Regions from separate parts of the Homo sapiens genome. Here regions 2, 3 and 4 are each linked to region 1. Evidence: promoter capture Hi-C in human tissues and cell types (Jung and others, 2019). All regions are on one chromosome and are shown on one strand. The core of a region is centred on a gene start or on the middle of the fragment in contact, and the rest is flanking DNA. Distances in the headings are between cores, read along the strand shown.

Evidence for each region. Contacts are between HindIII fragments. The study calls those that stand out against the background at their distance.
Region 2: a contact is called between a fragment that was not itself captured here and the fragment with the promoter of CCDC110 in region 1, in 2 of the 25 tissues and cell types used here (H1 embryonic stem cells and aorta).
Region 3: a contact is called between a fragment that was not itself captured here and the fragment with the promoter of CCDC110 in region 1, in 1 of the 25 tissues and cell types used here (dorsolateral prefrontal cortex).
Region 4: a contact is called between a fragment that was not itself captured here and the fragment with the promoter of CCDC110 in region 1, in 1 of the 25 tissues and cell types used here (heart left ventricle).

What each region holds. Positions count from the first base shown.
Region 1 is chr4:185,470,377-185,473,076 of GRCh38, reverse strand. It overlaps CCDC110 (coiled-coil domain containing 110), which reads left to right and starts at 1,344. Exons shown (of 7, transcript NM_152775.4): 1 at 1,344-1,403; 2 at 2,028-2,132. The coding sequence starts at 1,394. It overlaps LOC105377590 (a long non-coding RNA gene), which reads right to left and starts at 1,646. Exons shown (of 2, transcript NR_133944.1): 1 at 1,317-1,646; 2 at 814-962. RefSeq lists a silencer at 1,130-1,759. The HindIII fragment of the contact is 7,773 bases long and covers 1-2,700 here.
Region 2 is chr4:186,041,695-186,044,394 of GRCh38, reverse strand. No RefSeq gene overlaps it. Among named protein-coding and RNA genes, the nearest start is that of TLR3, 26 kb to the left of the region's middle. The HindIII fragment of the contact is 6,003 bases long and covers 1-2,700 here.
Region 3 is chr4:186,023,930-186,026,629 of GRCh38, reverse strand. It overlaps the pseudogene RNU4-64P. Among named protein-coding and RNA genes, the nearest start is that of TLR3, 44 kb to the left of the region's middle. The HindIII fragment of the contact is 3,937 bases long and covers 1-2,700 here.
Region 4 is chr4:186,133,432-186,136,131 of GRCh38, reverse strand. The region is part of intron 1 of FAM149A (family with sequence similarity 149 member A); the gene reads right to left. Among named protein-coding and RNA genes, the nearest start is that of FAM149A, 30 kb to the right of the region's middle. RefSeq lists an enhancer at 1,790-1,949. The HindIII fragment of the contact is 5,745 bases long and covers 1-2,700 here.

The sequences.
Region 1 (2,700 bases), core at 95-2,594:
GACTCACTGCAGCCTCTGCCTCCTGGGTTCAAGTGATTCTCCTGCCTCAGCCTCCCGAGTAGCTGGGATTACGAATGTACTCCACCATACCTGGCTAATTTTGGTATTTTTAGTAGAGACAAGGTTTCACCATGTTGGTCAGGCTGGTCTCGGACTCCTGACCTCAGGTGATCCACCCGCCTCGGCCTCCCAAAGTGCTGGGATTACAGGTGTGAGCCATCATGCCGGACCTAGAGCCCATTTCTTTTCTTTTTTTTTTTTTTGTTTGTTTTTTTTTGTTTTTTTGAGACGGAGTCTGGCTCTGTTGCCCAGGCTGGAGCACAGTGGCGCCATCTCGGCTCACTGCAACCTCCGCCTCCTGGGTTCAAGCGATTCTCCTGCCTCAGCCTCCTGAGTAGCTGAGATTACAGGCGCGTGCACTAGAGCCCATTTCTATAAGAAACAAATTAGAGGAAGTAAGCACTGAAACTATCATAAGAAGTTTCATTTCAATGAAAGCAAGCCATCATGTATTACTTATTATATATTATATGTTATTATATAGCAAATTATGATATCCTGGTGATTGTGATTTTGAATTTTAATTTTCTATGTGTGATGGTTTACTACAAAATAAATAATATATACTCGTTTAAAACTTTAAAGAGCACCATTTTCTGATGGGCAGGAGGATTAGCTGGGGGCACGCACCCAGTCCTTGGTTAAAGGAGGTCAGGTTTCCCGTGAACGCAACATCAATCCTGCACGTGATACACCAGGTGCGTAAAAATTAACATGCTTAGACAAAGGAAGCCCACCGTCGCTTCCCACAGCTTTCATGAGCATATTTTAATACATGTTTAGGTTAATTCATTATTGAAAAATAGGAGTCTTCTTTTCATTGCAGCAAACAAAAGTCCTTTCACAATATTGGTCATGGGCCGTTCAAATCCCCAAATGCTGAAACTCCTCTGAGGGATGCGCTGAAATGAGAGGACTAAGAATTAAAAAAAAAAAACAACAGCGATGAAGTGGAGATGTGGAAAGGCAAAGGGAAAGCTCTCAGGCGTGTGTCCGTCCCCGGGCGGTCCCTTTCTCCGCACCGCTTTGGTCCGGCGGGTACCGCAGCGAGTCCGAGTGTGAGCAAGCCCGTCCCGGACAGCCGCGCGCGTGTGCGGGGAGGCGCCCAGGTGGGCTGTCCCAGGCCAGGTTCCCAGGGAAGCTCTCGGGGAAGCGTCCGGAGTGAGGAGGGACCCACCGGGACCCCACCAGGGACCCCAGCCGAGCGCGCGCCGCCGAGGGTGGGGGTGGGGCCGGCGCCCCGGCCACCCGGTTACCTGGCGACAGGATGCCCTGCGCGGGGCGGCGGAGCGGGTGCGTGCGGCGGCGGTTGCGAGAGAGATGAGCCGCGGCGATGAGCCCGGGTAAGAGTTGGACGGGGCGGGGCTCCTAGGGGAGCCGCGGGAACGGAGGGCAGCAGAAGGGCATTCAGCAGGCGGCTCCCCGCTCGAAAACCCGGGACATCCCGGGTCCGCCCTTCTGCACTCGCCGCACATCTCCCGCTCGGCCCTAGGGCTGAGCACCCGCTGCGGCCCCCTGCGTCCGCTGTGGCTTACAGGCTGGCTACGTGGTCTGCCGCCGCCGCCCGCCCAGCGCGCCCTCGGGTGGCCGCTTGCGGAAAGCGCCGCGCCCCGCCCCAGGCCCGGCCTGATGCCGTCCCTCCGCCCCATCCCTCCGCCCCGCCCCAGCCTTCAGCCTTGACCCCGCCCCATTCCTCTGCCCCCACAGGTCCCGCCCAGTCTCTCCGCCCCATCCCATCCCTGCGCCCCGCCCCAGCCTTCAAACCCGCCCCCTCCTAATTCCCTCCGCCCCGCCCTCCCCGCCCTCCCCGCCCCCCCGCCCCAGCCTTCAGCCCCGCCCCCTCCTAATTCCCTCCGCCCCGCCCCAGCCGTTAGCCCTGCCCCGCCCCATCCCTCTGCCCCGCCCCCACCTTCAGCCCCGCCACGCCACGACCCGCGACAGAACAGCCCCGGACGGTTCTGTTACAGAAAAGCAGCACCGGGAAGAGGATGAAGTTGACTCCGTTCTCCTTTCAGCGTCCAAGATCCTAAATTCTTCGGAGGGGGTGAAGGAAAGTGGCTGCAGTGACACAGGTAAAATCGCCAGACCGTAAAAGGCTCCTTTAACTATACACAGGCGGCAGCATCTGGCCTGTGCCACCTGCTCACCTGGCGTGCTTCCCACGGCCGTGATGACACGGACAGCAGCCACCACGGCACTCGCGCTTTGTGCCAGTGCTGTTCTAAGCACGTAATGGATCAACTGTTTAATTCTCACAACACTTTTACGAGGTGGGTGCTACCACGATCCCCATTTTGCAGATAAGGAAACGGGCACAGAGAGGTTAACTCCCTAAGGTCACACAGGCAGCGAGGAATGGAGCGGGCATTCAGCAGGGCGGCTCCGGACTGCCTGTCTTCACCACCACGCTACGCTCCGTTGCTTCTCTGAATGCTAAGTAAGAATTGTTGAGTTTTTTGGACACACACTAAAACGATATGCAGTCAGCCCTCGGTATCTGGGAGTTCCGCATCCTTGGATTCAACCAACCACAGATGGAAAATATTCAGGGGGGAAAATTTTTAAAAATAACAGTACCACAATTTTTAAATGCAAATTTTGAACAGTATAACAGCCATTTACATAGCATTTACATTGTAT
Region 2 (2,700 bases), core at 98-2,597, 570 kb before region 1:
CATATCCCCTGTGACCTGCACGTACACATCCAGATGGCCGGTTCCTGCCTTAACTGATGACATTCCACCACAAAAGAAGTGAAAATGGCCTGTTCCTGCCTTAACTGATGATATTGTCTTGTGAAATTCCTTCTCCTGGCTCATCCTGGCTCAAAAGCTCCCCTACTGAGCACCTTGTGACCCCCACTCCTACCTGTCAGAGAACAACCCCCCTTTTTCCTTTACCTACCCAAATCCTATAAAATGGCCCCACCCCTATCTCCCTTCGCTGACTCTCTTTTCGGACTCAGCCCGCCTGCACCCAGGTGAAATAAACAGCCTTGTTGCTCACACAAAGCCTGTTTGGTGGTCTCTTCACACGGACGCGCATGAAAGTGATCCACCTGCGTCAGCCTCCCAAAGTGCTGGGATTACAGGCGTGAGCCACTGCGCCCGGCCCCTTTTGCCATCTTTCCTATGAGTTTACCAAATGTGAAAGTGGTAAAGTAGTCTCTACCTCTGACATCACATGTGGCAGACATTCATATGCATATACACCCAAATATTCACAGTCAGCACACTGTGCATGATGCGGGATAAAGAACATAAATAATCATTGAATATTCTATCATCTGCATCCTTGAAAATCAGCATCTTGTGGAAGAAAGAAGATGCAGATGTACACGGAAGAGTTATTAAAATATGTTGTTCTGGACTTTGGCAATGTTAGTATGAATTCTGTGTGCATGTGTACGTTCATATATGTGTATTTCACAGGTGGGCGGAACCATCATGGTATGAATTCTGTGTGCATGTGTACGTTCATATATGTGTATTTCACAGGTGGGCGGAACCATCATGGTATGAATTCTGTGTGCATGTGTATGTTCATATATGTGTATTTCACAGGTGGGAGGTACCATCATGGTACGAATTCTGTGTGCATGTGTATGTTCATATATGTATATTTCACAGGTGGGAGGTACCATCATGGTACGAATTCTGTGTGCATGTGTATGTTCATGTATGTGTATTTCACAGGTGGGCGGTACCATCATGGTACGAATTCTGTGTGCATGTGTATGTTCATATATGTGTATTTCACAGGTGGGCGGTACCATCATGGTACGAATTCTGTGTGCATGTGTATTTTCATATATGTGTATTTCACAGGTGGGCGGTACCATCATGGTACGAATTCTGTGTGCATGTGTATGTTCATATATGTGTATTTCACAGGTGGGGGGTACCGTCATGGTATGAATTCTGTGTGCATGTGTATGTTCATATATGTGTATTTCACAGCTGGGAGGTACCATCATGGTACGAATTCTGTGTGCATGTGTATGTTCATATATGTATATTTCACAGGTGGGAGGTACCATCATGGTATCAATTCTGTGTGTATGTGTGTGTTCATATATGTGTATTTCACAGCTGGGAGGTACCATCATGGATCTGCGCAAGTGTTTATGGTTGTCAGTGAAACCTTGAAATAATAAACTGCTTCTCAGAATAAATGAGGTGATAAACTTCACGATTCCTTTTTAAAAATCTCACCTCTATTTTAAACTTCGAGTTTGGTCCTTCAAATTCTATTAATGACATTCTAAGTTACATATCCAATTACAAAGAAATTGACTTTCTTTCAGAACATTCACTGAGATTCTTTATATTCACCATTTTCCAACAGTTCAACCATATAGAAGAGCTGAAAAAATTGTACAGGGAACACCCACATACCATTCCTTAGCTTCCACAATTAACGTTTATCGCTTCTCGGCCGTTTGGCTAAGATTAAGTGCACAATTAACGTTTTACTGTATTTGCTTTACCACATAATCATCCATCTATCCATCCCTCTCTTAATCCGTCTTGTTGTTTGATGCATTTGAAAGTAAATTTCAGACATCTATATACTTCACTCCTAGTCTTCCCAAGGCACATCGTTAAGTAGAGTTGGATATTTGTTTAAAGTGTTTTTTAGATAATATTTACATGCAATGAAAATGCATAAATCTTAAGTTTTCACTTGATCAATGTGGATAAATGAACACATCATTAAAATATAGAACGCAGCCTGGGCAACATGGCAAAACCCTGTCTCTACAAAAAAATGCAAAAATTAGCTGGGTGTGGTTGTGCATGCTTGTGGTCCTAGCTACTTGGGAGACTGAGGCAGAAGGATCACTTGACCCAGGAGGTTGAGGCTGCAGTGAACTGTGACCACACCACTGCATTCCAGCATGGACAACAGAGTGAGACCCTGTCTCCAAAAAAAAAAAAAAAAAGAAGAGATAGAAACGTTATTGCTTTGGTCCAGGAAGTTCTCTAGCTCATTCCCTGCCAGTATTCCCCAGACACCTTCTCCCAGAAGCATCTGCTGTTCTGATATCTTTTTTACCACAGGTAAGTTTTTGCCTATTTCTGGAATTTCCAATAGATAGAATAATATATTACGTGGCTTCTTTCACTCAGTATAATGGTATTTGTTTGTTTGTTTGTTTGTTTTTTCTTAGACAGAGTCTCCCCCTGTCACCCAGGCTGGAGTGCAGTGGTGTGATCTCAGCTCACTGCAACCTCTGCCTCCTGGGTTCAAGCAATTCTCCTGCCTCAGCCTCCCAAGTAGCTGGGATTATAGGCACCTGCCACCACACCCAGCTAACTTTTATATTTTCAGTAGAGACGGGGTTTCACCATGCTGGCCAAGCTGGTCTCAAA
Region 3 (2,700 bases), core at 147-2,646, 550 kb before region 1:
ATCCCCTGCTTTGTGAGTCTTAGGTGAAGAAAATGAACAGCATAGCTCTCTGCAGTGGCTGTATCATAGCCAATGAGGTTTATCCAAGGCATGATTATTGCTAATTGAAAATGAGCAGCGCAAGGCAGTGGACCTTGTGAGGAGTTGAGATATTTTCACACACCTGGTGACAGAAGCACTAGATTCTTCTAGACACCTCCGCCAAAGCACTTTGCCTGTTCTCTGGGCTTGTAGGGGCTGAGAGGAAGGTGGTGATAGTGAGCTTTCCACAAAGTGGTGTCACTTTGCCCAGCAGCTATTCCTCCTGCTTGCAAAGCTTCCCAGCTCCCTTCCCCATGGTAACCGCCTTCGCTTTGCATCCATCACAGGATCTTGCACCTGAGTATTTTCCAGGTCTTCCCCCAAGGACAAACAGCGCTTTTGCTTCTTCCCCTCCCCTGAAGCAGTATCTGTGTCAGGGACAGTAGCTGGATTGTCCTTCCCTGTCCAGATCTTCCTCAGGAGCACACAGTGGAGATGGTGGAAAGAGCTAACACTAGGTGAATGCAGGTTCTCCTTGTGTCTCAGGCCCACCGGGGCTTTCTCAACCATCTAGCACACAAGCTCACACTCAGACTTTAAGAATTTGCTACATTCTGGCTGGGTTTTTTGTTTTGTTTTTGTTTGTTTTGTTTCGTTTTGCTTTTTTTGTTTTTGAGACGGACTCTCACTCTGTCGCCCCCCGGACTGAAGTGCAGCGGCGTGATCTCGGCTCATGCAACCTCCGCCTCCCGGGTTCAAGCGATTCTCCTGCCTCAGCCTCCCGAGTAGCTGGGATTACAGGCGCCTGTCACTATGCCTAGCTAATTTTTGTATTTTTAGTAGAGATGGGGTTTCACCATGTTGGCCAGGCTGGTCTCGAACTCCTGACCTTGTGATTCGCCTGCCTCGGCCTCCCAAAGTGCTGGGATTACAGGCGTTAGCCACCGCACCCGGCCCATCCTGGCTGTTTTCTTCCAACCTGCTTTTACGGCTGCTCCATCCACCCTCCTCTCACACTCTGCCAAGGGTGAAACCATCTGTGCGGCCCGATTCTCCCCGAGGGACCTGTCACTCCTCAGAACTGACTTCACTTGCTTGCCTTGCAACCTCAGCTTTCTGAAGTGCTCAAGAAAAGTTGGCACTGTGAAGATCACATGGCTTTTCCTCCTTGCTAAGGTGGGAGTGACATCTTTGTAAAGCCATCTACATATGAAGTGAAAACAGGATTCCCTGTTTCTGTTTCAAGATCCCACATGGGTGGTCTGAAGTTTAGTTCCCTCCCAGCAAGGGATCAACAGCATCCATGCTGCCAAAAGCTTCAGAAATGAACTCTGTGTTAACTCCGCGCATCTTTGAAGGGCCTACTATTTGCACATCACTCTACGAAGAGCTGAGATACTGAGATGAATGAGGCACAATCCTTGTCTTACCCTCGCTCACAATCCTGGGGGAGGCAAGGCACAGAAACGAGCGTCATAGAGTCATGAGTGCCGCCCCGAGAGTGGGAGAAACACGGTGGGAACGTGCATCTGAATAAGTAGCAGGCAGGGGCATGAGGAGGCAGAGTTATTTGAGTTGCTTCTTGAATTTTGTGTAAGTTTTCTATACTGAGACAGTAAAGAGGCATTCACAGAAAAGTGTTCCTTCTATTTCTCATTCTCTGATACACAGTTCCATTTCCTGGAAGAGTTTGCCTGGATCAGAACTCTCTAGATCCCATAGGCTGACCTGGTCTTAGCCACAGTGAACTCTGTGTCTGCGTCCTGCAGGTGAACCCAGCATTTCGCAAGGTCAGCGGGTTCTGCGGTGGCAGTATTAATAATAGAAACTTCGCTGCATTTGAATAAAATCAGTATTTTTTTCTTTAAAAAGCTTGATGCCAATATCTAATCTGCTTTCTTTCATATTTGTCCTCTCAATATTTATTTTTATTTTATTTTTTTTTTTTATTTTTTGTTTGTTTTGTTTTTTGGAGACAGGGTCTCACTCGGCCCTAGGCTGCAGCTGGAGTGCAGTGGCGTGATCTCGGCTCACTGCGACCTCTGCCTCCTGGGTTCAAGCAATTCTCCTGCCTCAGCCTCCCGAGTCGCTGAGATTACAGGTGCCTGCCACCATGATTAATTTTTGTATTTTTACTAGAGATAGGGTTTCACCATGTTGGCCAGGCTGCTCTCAAACTCCTGACCTCAAGTGATCTACCTGCGTCGGCCTCCCAAAGTGCTGGGATTACAGGCATGAGCCACCACGCCCCACCTGTCCTCTCAATATTTGTATTAACCTCTATATTTGTTGTCCCTGGAGGGGTGGATGTCTGGATATTAGTTTATTTGTTGGAACCACTGGGGTGTATTTCAGCACTGGTCTGGAAAGAATGGAGAGGCTTCACCGCTGCCAAAGCTCTCCTGGTTCGGCCTCACCTGGACGGTCGACTACATCGGTGCCGAGACAGGAACGGTGCAGCCCAAACAAGGACTCACTACAGTCAGACGCCCACGGGAACAGGGCTCATCAGCCAAAATCTAGTCGTTTTGTGAAAGGTGAGCCTGCGGCACGTTGAATGTAGAGAAGAGTTTTAGCAGAAGGTGTCAAGTCCCAGGCGTTGGAGTCTGGGGATCAGTCTGTGAACAAACCCAGGCTCAGAATCTGGTGAGAGGGGCAGAACAGGAGCAGGAGCCAGGA
Region 4 (2,700 bases), core at 17-2,516, 660 kb before region 1:
TTTTAAACAGCACAGCAGAAAACAAAGACTTCGTAGTAATTGCTAGACCACTGTTGTACATTAGATTTTATGTAACTGAAATATTAAGATGCAATTGATCCTTATTATTCTCTGGTTCACCCTCTGCAAATTCACCTACTTGCTAAAATACATCTGTAAGCCCCAACTCCACACGCGTGGTGCCTCCATGCCCCTCCGCACATGTGCAGAACAATGACACACCTGAGTCCCTTCAACTGCGTGCTCCCCGCTGCGGTCACACAAGGCGACCCTGCCTTGTTTCAGCTCTCACGCTGTCAACAAGTGTGCACTTTTGTGGGTCTATTCAGTGCTGTCACAGGTCTTCCAAATTGTTGTGCTTGTTGTGGGTGATCTGGCTGTGTAAAGTGGTCTTGGAGTGCTGTGCTAAAGCTGCCGAGTGTTCCTAAGCGCCAGAAGGCTGTGGTGTGCCTTGAGAAGGAAATACGTATGTTGATCAGCTTTCAGGCACGAGGTATAGACAGCGCTGTCGGTGAGTTCAATGTTAGCAAGTCGCTACTATATATTAAATGAGGTGTCTTTCAACACGAACACACATTAGACAAGCTCAGGTATCGATCAGTTGACAAAAATGTTGAGACTGGAGACTCACAGGACGCGAACCCTGTATTTCCTCTGCAGCTATGGTTCAGTATTCACTACATCATGGTTTCCGGTGACTTCACAGACCATGACTACCAGGGATAATGAGAACTGATTATTACCTCTACCACCACTCATATGTATATGACATTACAACACAATGTCTTCATAAATCTCTTACTAAATTTCAAGACATACAGATGGAATTTCAGAACACTAGAATTGGGAGATTGCATGCATTTTATGTTTAATACACAATCTAAAGTAAAAAACGTGAGAGTAGAGGCAAAGGGGTGGTGCCCGCTGTCTTATGTCTGCACTGCAGTTTGTCAGGTCAGAATTGAATTCAGTGGTTCTCAAATTGTAACATGCAGCAGGATCACCAGAGAGCTCGTAAAAACCCAGGTTGCTGGGCCCCACCCCGGTCTCTGGTGCAGCAAGTCTGCAGTGCGAATGTGGATTTCTCAGGATCCCACGTGCTGCTGGTACTGCGGCCCAGGATGGCACTTCGAGAGCCACCGCCCTGATTCATCTGTTATACATTCTGTCCTCCCAACGCATTCCCACCTAAAAAACTGCTTGAGCCCAGGAACTGCGTCATATTGAATTGTGTCACCCTAGCCTCAGCACACCTTTAATCAATGTTTGAAGGAGTAGAGGAACTAATGAAAGCCTTCGTATTCCAGAGAAGAAAAAGCGAGGTCTCAGAAGGGCAGGCCTGCTGCTGCTTGGTGAAGGCCAGGGACCAGAATCCAGATTCCTGCAAACCTGCAGCACACGAGGCTGCTAGGCTTTCCCTCAACAGCTTTAATTGTAAGTAAATCCTATTCCATCTTTGGGTGGGAACACCAGCAGAACACCCTTTCTAAATGTAAAACAACAAAACTGTCAGATTCTAGGGCAATGCAGGATACCCAGGGAAAACCTAGGTCTGACTAACGAAGACATTTGGGAGAGCACAGAGGTTCCTCTTTACTTGGTGATCCAGGGCTCTCAGCTGACCAAAGCTGAAAGGAGAACTCAGGCTGCCAGACACTCTCAGGATGACTGTGTTCTCGCTGTCTTTCTCATGCACCTAAAAAAGCAAAAGGCTCTTCCTGTCCTTGCTGCGGCACCTAGTACAGAGTCAGCCATGAACATGCTTCACATGCAGCTTTCTTCCTATTTCAGACCCAGGAAAATACCAGTCTAAAATGTTGCAAAAGAAGAAAATAAAGATCATAATTGCTCAGGTTTAATCTCTGAGGCTGGGATGTGTCTATCTTCAACAGCATCGCACGATGCTGTCTGGAAGCCCTTGCCAAAAAATGTAAAAAAGATCAGTCCTCCATTTTAAACTCATTAGAGTGGCTGTTTAAAAAGAGATAAAGAAAGTAAGTTTTGGTGAAGATGTAGAGGAATGGGAATCCTCGTGCATCACCGGTGGAAACGTAAAATGGTGCAGCTAGTATAAAAAAATCGTTTGTGATTCCTCAAAAGTGAAACACAAAATTACCATAGGATCCAGCAATCCCACTTCTTGGTATACACTGAAAGAATTAAAAGCAGGGACACAGGCCAGGTGCAGTGGCTCATACCTGTAATCCCAACACTTTGGGAGGCTGAGGTGGGCTGATCACTTGAGCCAGGAGTTCGAGACCACCTTGGGCAATACAGGGAGATCCTGTCTCTACAGAAAATTTAAAAAGTAGGTAGGTGTGGTGGCACATGCCTGTCCTCCCTGGTACTCTGGGAGGCTGAGGCAGGAGGATCACCTGAGCCCAGGAGGTCAGGGTTGCAGTGAGCTATGATCACGCCACTGTACTCCAGCCTGAGTGACAGAGCAGGACCCCATCTCTAAAAAATGTTCATAGCAGCATTGTTCACACAGCTGAAGAGGGAAGCAACCCAAATGTCCATCAACAGAAGAATGGATAAACAAAAGGTAGTATATATTAATACATACAATTAAATATTGTCTTAAAAGGGAATGAAAATCTGATTCATGCTATAACATGGATGAACCTTAAAATCTTTACGCTAAGTGAAATAAGCCAGACACAAAAGCCCAAATATTGTATGATTCCACTTATATATATA